2 separate regions of the Homo sapiens genome follow, and region 1 is linked to region 2. The links are contacts of gene promoters, found by promoter capture Hi-C in human tissues and cell types (Jung and others, 2019). All regions are on one chromosome and are shown on one strand. The core of a region is centred on a gene start or on the middle of the fragment in contact, and the rest is flanking DNA. Distances in the headings are between cores, read along the strand shown. Region 1 holds the start of GUSB (glucuronidase beta). Region 2 overlaps TYW1 (tRNA-yW synthesizing protein 1 homolog).

The links. Contacts are between HindIII fragments. The study calls those that stand out against the background at their distance.
Region 1: the fragment with the promoter of GUSB here is called in contact with a fragment that was not itself captured in region 2 in 1 of the 25 tissues and cell types used here (hippocampus).

What each region holds. Positions count from the first base shown.
Region 1 is chr7:65,980,921-65,984,502 of GRCh38, forward strand. It overlaps GUSB (glucuronidase beta), which reads right to left and starts at 1,293. Exons shown (of 12, transcript NM_000181.4): 1 at 1,054-1,293. The coding sequence starts at 1,263. RefSeq lists an enhancer at 1,339-1,468. The HindIII fragment of the contact is 22,673 bases long and covers 1-3,582 here.
Region 2 is chr7:67,008,333-67,011,834 of GRCh38, forward strand. It overlaps TYW1 (tRNA-yW synthesizing protein 1 homolog), which reads left to right. Exons shown (of 16, transcript NM_018264.4): 4 at 1,251-1,352. Among named protein-coding and RNA genes, the nearest start is that of TYW1, 13 kb to the left of the region's middle. The HindIII fragment of the contact is 7,836 bases long and covers 1-3,502 here.

The DNA of each region.
Region 1 (3,582 bases), core at 43-2,542, 1.0 Mb before region 2:
TCAGGAGGGGAACAGGGGTGGCGTCCTGGGCCTGATGTCATGTCCTGTCCTCTATGTGAACCTTGAAAACCAAGGGACTTCCTGCCTCGGCAGAGCTGACCTCAGGACATCTAAACTGTCACCTTCTCCCGATCCCCGGGCCCAGCTCTGTGCAGTGCATGCCGCTGTGGCCAGAGTGTGTGGGTGGCTCATGCCAGTAATCAGCGCTTTGGGAGGTCAACGTGGGAGGATGGCTTGAGGCCAGGAGTTCGAGACCACCCTGGGTAAATAGTGACACCCTGTATCTTTTTTTTTTTTTTAAGTTTTTTTGCCTTTTTTTTTTTTTTGGAGACGTAGTCTCACTATGTCGCCCAAGTTGGAGTGCAGTGGCATCCTGATCTCAGCTCACTGCAACCTCTACTCCCGGGTTCAAGCAATTCTCCTGACTCAGCCTCCCAAGTAGCTGGGATTACAGGCATGAACCACCACACTTGGCTAATTTTTATATTTTTAGTAGAGATGAGGTTTCACCCTGTTATGTTGGCCAGCCTGGTCTCAAACTCCTGGCCTCAGGCGATTCGCCCGCCTCCACCTCCCAAAGTGCTGGGATTACAGGTGTGAGCCACCGAGCCCAGATAATTTTTTTTTTTTCAATTAGCCAGGCGTGTTGGCACCCCCTAAATTGCAAGGCTGGGGCGGGAGAATCGCTTGAGCTCAGAAGTTAGGCTGGCGCCACTCCGCCCCAGCCTGGGAAACAGGTGCAAACCCAGTCTCAAAAAAATTTTTAAAAATTAAAAATAAATATTGAAAGGAAGGATACTGCACAGACTCAGCCTTTACCTCGGGAAAGGGCTCGGCAAGAGCCTTTTCTCCTCCTGCCTAATCCGCCCCGGCCCTCCAGGGTGCTCCTGTTCCCCCGTCCCCCAAGCCGGCGCCCCCAAGCCCGTTGACCTTTAACCTCCTGCGGGCCCCAGCTCGGAGACGCCCAGGGGAAGAAGTCTGCGGGGGGCCCGGGCTCCCCTACTCCCACCGCCGGGCTTTCGGGCGCCTCCCGGCCCTGCCCCGAGATCGCACCTCCCACAGCGGCCGCCGGTACCACTGCTCCTCGAAGCCCCGGCGTCGGTTGTCAGAGAAGTCGGCGCGGAAGCTCCAGAGGCCGTCCAGCTCCTTGCACTCCCGCGACGGGCTCTCCTGGGGGTACAGCATCCCGCCCTGCAGCCCCAGCGCGCAGCCCCACAACAACGGCCCGAGCGCCGCCCAGGCAACCGCCGACCCCCGGGCCATGCTTCCCGGTCCCCCGCTCGGCCACCGTCTGCGGCGCTAAGAAAAGCGCGGGAGGTGCCCGTAGGGCGGGTCGCGTGACGCGCCGGTGTCGTGATGCGCCTGAAGCCATCCGCGCCATCTTGGTTGAGGACGAGTGCCAGGCCTGGAGGGGCGGGGCCGGGCGCTGCCCGGTAGGGCTTGTGGCTGGAACCCCAGGCTAGGCCTTTGGGGAAACGGGACCCTCACCCTCAGCCCCAGCCGATAAGGGCGAGGTCTGCTCCCCACCCCGACCCAGGCTGGACGATCCAGGGCCGCAGGCCAGAACAGAACCCCTGAGATCGGTGGGATCCCCCTGTTTCTTCAAGGAGCACCTCCACTTGCTTTTCCCAGCAGGAATTCAAGGAGGCCCCAGCGGCGCCTCTTCCATGCCTGTCTGATGCAGCCTCTTGCAGGGATGCACGTCCTTGGGATGCGGCCATAGCCTTGACCCTGGGCTTCTGGAGCCCTGACCTTAACCCAGGGGCCAAGAGCTCCCTCTTGGTGTTGCAGGCACATAAAGATGCAGGGAGAGAGGCCAGGTGCACTTTGGGAACCCGAGGGGGGCAGATCACTTGAGGCCAGGAGTTCGAGACCAGCCTGGCCAACGATAGTGAAACCCCGTCCCTATTTTGTAAACATACAAAAAAAAAAAAAAGAATTAGCGGGGCGTGATGGTGCGTGCCTGTAATCCCAGCTACTCAGGAAGCTGAGGTAGGAGAATCGCTTGAACCCGGGAGGCAAAGGCTGCAGTAAGCCGAGATCGCACCACTGCACTCCAGCCTGGGCAACAGAGCGAGACTCTGTCTCAAAAAAAAAAAAAAAATTGCAGGGAAAGGGTGCCCTGCGGGACCCCAGTTTACTCCAGTAGGGAAGGCACCGTGTGGGAGAGGTAGAGGAGGAGATCTGGAGACAGCAAAGGAGACATAGATTTATGGAGGGGACTTTCATACAGGGACGGTGCAGTGGCCATTGCTGGACATGAGAACCACTACCATTTGTAAAAAGCATGCAGCTTACATAACATTTTCAACTAGCATCCTCGACCTGTTACTGGTGGAGTTCCGGGTGGTGAATCCCTACACATCAGCAACAACCTCAATTCTTGCCTCCTCAGAAGAAAGAATTGCACTGAGGGGCATAAGGCAGAAAGCCAGAGGGAGGTAAGCTGCAGAGCAGTAGTAAAAGCTTGTTAAAAAGCAGGCCAGTGCTGAGCGTAGTGGCTCACACCTGTAATCCCAGCACTTTGGGAGGCGGAGGTGGGGGGATCACGAGGTCAGGGGTTTGAGACCAGCCTGGCCAATATGATGAAACCCCATCTCTACTAAAAAATTAGCTGGGCATGGTGGCATGCGCCCGTAGTCCCAGCTACTCGGGAGGCTGAGGCAGGAGAATCGATTGAACGCGGGAGGCAGAGGTTGCAGTCAGCCGAGATCGCACCACAGCACTACAGCCTGGCGAGAGAGCAAGACTCAGTCTAAAAAAAAAAGCAGGCCAGGCACAGAGGTTCAGGCCTGTAACTCCAAACTCCAGCACTTTGGGAGGCCAAGGCGGGAGGATCACTTGATATCAGGAGTTTGAGACCAACCTGGCCAACGTGGAGAAACCCCATCTCTACTAAAAATACAAAAATTAGCCAGGCGTGGTGGCAGGCACCTGTAATCCCTACTATTTGGGAGGCTGAGGCAGGAGAAATGCTTTAACCCAGGAGGCAGAGGTTGCAGTGAGCTGAGATCACGCCACCGCACTCCAGCCTGGGCTACAGAGTGAGATGCCATTTCAGGAAAAAAAAAAATATTAAAAAACTTTAGAACAGGAAGGAAAGAAGGAAAGTACAACTTGGAAGAGGGCCAAGTGGGTGATCTAAGAAACCAAGTGCCTTGGCCAGGTGCGGTGGCTCACGCCTGTCATCCCAGCACTTTGGGAGGCTGAAGCAGGCAGATCACCTGAGGTTGGGAGTTCGAGACCAGCCTGACCAATATGGAGAAACCGCATCTCCATATTTAGCTGGGCATGGTGGCACATGTCTGTAATCCCAGCTACTCGGGAAGGCTGAGGTGAGAGAATCGCCTGAACCAGAGATTGCAGTGAGCCGAGATCACGCCATTGTACTCCAGCCTGGGCAACAAGAGTGAAACTCCTACAAAAAAAAAGAAAAAGGAAAACAAGTGCCCAGCTTGACCTCTTGACTCAGGGTTTCATAGATTGGCATCCTTCCAGGATCTTGCCACTCCTGATTCCTTAGCTGGGGCTCTGAACATACATTCTTAGACCATAAAGTCATTCGCAGGGTGCACAACAGTT
Region 2 (3,502 bases), core at 131-2,630:
TGGCCTTGGTGATTAAACTCAATCTCCAGCCCCTCTTCTCTCCCTAGTGTTCCCTGTTGGGGCTGGGGTAGGAGGTGCTGAGTTTAACTTCTCATCAGTTTCTCTGGCAACGAGCCTCCATCCTGAAGCTATCTGAGGCCTCACTCCAGTAAGCCATCTCATTAGCGTACAAAAGATATTCATTCCATCTTTTGTTGTAGTGGCTGCTCCCAGCCTAGAGCTTCTCTGGGGTTCTGTTAGCCCTGTGAACTCTTCCCTAGGACTTTTTCCTGTCTGTCAACCGGCTTCTTTTCATGTTTCCCATTCTTTTCACTCTTCACTCTTTCTTTTATTTTATTTATTTATTTATTTTGGAGATGGAGTTTTGTTGCCCAGACTGGAGTGCAATGGTGCAATCTTGGCTCACTGCAACCTCCGCCTCCTGGATTCAAGTGATTCTCCTGCCTCAGCCTCCCGGGTAGCTGGGATTATAGGTGTGTGCCACCACGCTTGGCTAATTTTGTATTTTTAGTAGAGACGGGGTTTTACCATGTTGGTCAGGCTGGTCTCGCATTCCTGACCTCAAGTGATCCAACTGCATCGGCCTCCCAAGGTACTGGGATTACAGGTGTGAGCCACTGTGCCCAGCCCATTCTTCACTATTTCTTTTTGCACTTCTCTGTGTTTATTGTTTTTTAATATGTTATTTTCTTTATGAGACAGGATCTGAGTCTGTGGCCCAGGCTAGAGTGCATTGGTGTGATCGTAGCTCACTGTATCCTCTAACCCCTGGGCTCGGGGGATCTTCCCGTCTCAGCCTCTTGAGTAGCTGGGACTATAGGTGTGTGCCATCACACCTGGCTAATTTTTAAATTTTTTTATAACGATGAGGTCTCACTTTGTTGTCCAGGCTTGGCCTCAAGTGATCCTCCCACCTCAGCCTCCCAAAGTGCTGGGATTATAGGCATAAGCCATCTTGCCTGGCTGATATGTTTACTCTAGTAGGGCAAGGCAGATTGATCATCCAAAGCCAAATTAGATTCAGTCCTATGTAAACCCTGATCGGGTGAGAACAACACAAATGAATGATCTCTGTAATGGTGCCCAAGAAAATGGTAAGAGTGAGGATAGAATTTGTGTTCATGAAGATACATATCAGTCACTGAAAATATTTTTCATGAGGAATGCCACATTCTTGTGCCAACAGGGGTAATGAGGGTTATATTTGGCTCATTGAAGACTTTATTTGATGTTTTTTTTGGTCCTATTAGGGATTCGCAACAGTTCTTGCTGAAGCAGTTACATCCCTGGATCTGCCTGTGGCCATTATTAATCTAAAAGAATATGATCCAGATGATCATCTGATAGAAGAGGTTGGTAATTGTCTTTTTCTTCAGTCAAAACTCTCAAATTTAACTGATCTGCAATCTTCACAGTAAATTTAATTAGATAACTAGAATCTTCAGAATAAATTTAATTTTCGTGCTAAGGGATTTCAGTTAGTTGAATTCCAGTGTGAATCAGAGAATTGAATGTGGGGTAAGGTTCACTGATTCTCACGTGGTGTGGGGCTTGTTCTTCAGGCATGTTAAATTCTCCTGGGGCAGGGCTAGAGGTGAGAAAGCTTGGGTGGTTGGAAGTTCACTCCTTCCCACAATTTTCTTTTTTCTTTTCTTTTTTTTTTTTTTTGAGATGGAGTCTCACTATGTCACCCAGGCTGGAGTGCAGTGGTGCAATCTCAGTTCAGTGCAATGTCCGTCTCCAGGTTCAAGTGATTCTCCTGCCTCAGCCTCCCAAGTAGCTGGGATTTACAGGCATGCACCACCATGCCCAGCTAATTTTTTTTGTGTGTGTCTGTGTTTTTTGCTAGAGATGAGGTTTCACCATGTTGGCCAGGCTGGTCTGAAACTCCTGGCCTCAAGTGATCTGCCCGCCTTGGCCTCCCAAAGTGCTGGGATTACAGGCATGGGCCACTGTGCCTGGCCCCTACTATTTTTATTTTTTTAAAATTTATTTTATAGAGACAGGCTCTCACTCTCTCACCCAGGCTCTGGAGTACAGTGGTGCAATTTCAACCTCCCGGGCTCAAGTGATCCTCCTTCCTCAGCCTCCTAAAGTAGCTGAGACTACAGGCATGTGCTGCCATGCCCTGCTAATTTTAAAAGATTTTTTTTTTTTTTTTGACATGGAGTCTCGCTCTGTCACCCAGGCTGGAGTGTAGTGGCGCGATCTCAGCTCACTGCAAGCTCCGCCTCCCGGGTTCACGCCATTCTCCTGCCTCAGCCTCCCGAGTAGGTGGGACTACAGGCGCCCGCCGCCACACCCGACAAATTTTTTGTATTTTTAGTAGAGATGGGGTTTCACCGTGTTCGCCAGGATGGTCTCAATCTCCTGACCTTGTGATCCGCCTGCCTCGGCCTCCCAAAGTGCTAGGATTACAGACGTGAGTCACCGCGCCTGGCCAAAAGATTTTTTATAGAGATACGGTCTCACTATATTGCCCAGGTGGGTCTCGAACTCCTGGCCTCAGTCTCCCAAAGTACTAGGATTATAGATATGCCCAGCCCTCCCCGCTATTTTGAATCTCTTAATTAAGGAAGGGTTGTTATTGATGGCAGTGTGCTATACTTGTAGACCATGGGCAATCCAACCAAAAGGTCAAAAGCAGAGAGTATGGGTTTCGGAATCAGAGAAATCTCTTATTAGCTGTGTGACCTCAATGCATTAGTTAATGTCTTTTTTTTTAATGGAGTTTCGCTCTTGTTGCCCAGGCTGGAGTGCAGTGGTATGATCTTGGCTCACTGCAACCTCCAACTCCAGGGTTCAAGTGATTCTCCTACCTCAGCCTCCTGAGTAGCTGGGATTACAGGTGCCCACCACCATGCCTGGCTAATTTTTGTATTTTTAGTAGAGATGGGGTTTCACTGTGTTGGCCAGGCTGGTGTTGAACTCCTGACATCAGGTGATTTATTTGCCTCGGCCTCCCATAGTGCTGGGTTCACAGGCATGAGCCACTGCGCCCAGGCGCATTACTTAATATCTATGAGGGTTTAATTTCTTCATCTGAAAAGTGTTCCTCCCCTTTTTTCTCCAGTCATGCCCAGTTAGGGGATTTCACCCTACAGCAGTGGTTCTCAAGTGTGGCCCCTGAGCCAGCAGCATCAGCATCTCCTGTGAACTTGCTAGAAATGCAGAATCTCAGGTCTTAGCCTAGCTGCATCGTAGAGCTTAAACAGTGCTCCTGGTGATGCTGACACAGGTAGAGTTAGAGAAGCAGAGGCTGGGTGTGGTGGCTCACGCCTGTAATCCCAGCACTTTGGGAGGCTGAGGTAGGTGGATCACCTGAGGTCAGGAGTTCGAGACCAGCCTGGCCAACACGGTGAAACCACGTCTCTACTCAAAATACAAAAATTAGCTGGGGTTGGTGGTGGGCGCCTGTTAATCCCAACTACTCGGGAGGCTGAGGCAGGAGAATTGCTTGAACCTGGGAGGCGGAGGTCGCAGTGAGCCAAGATCGTGCCAT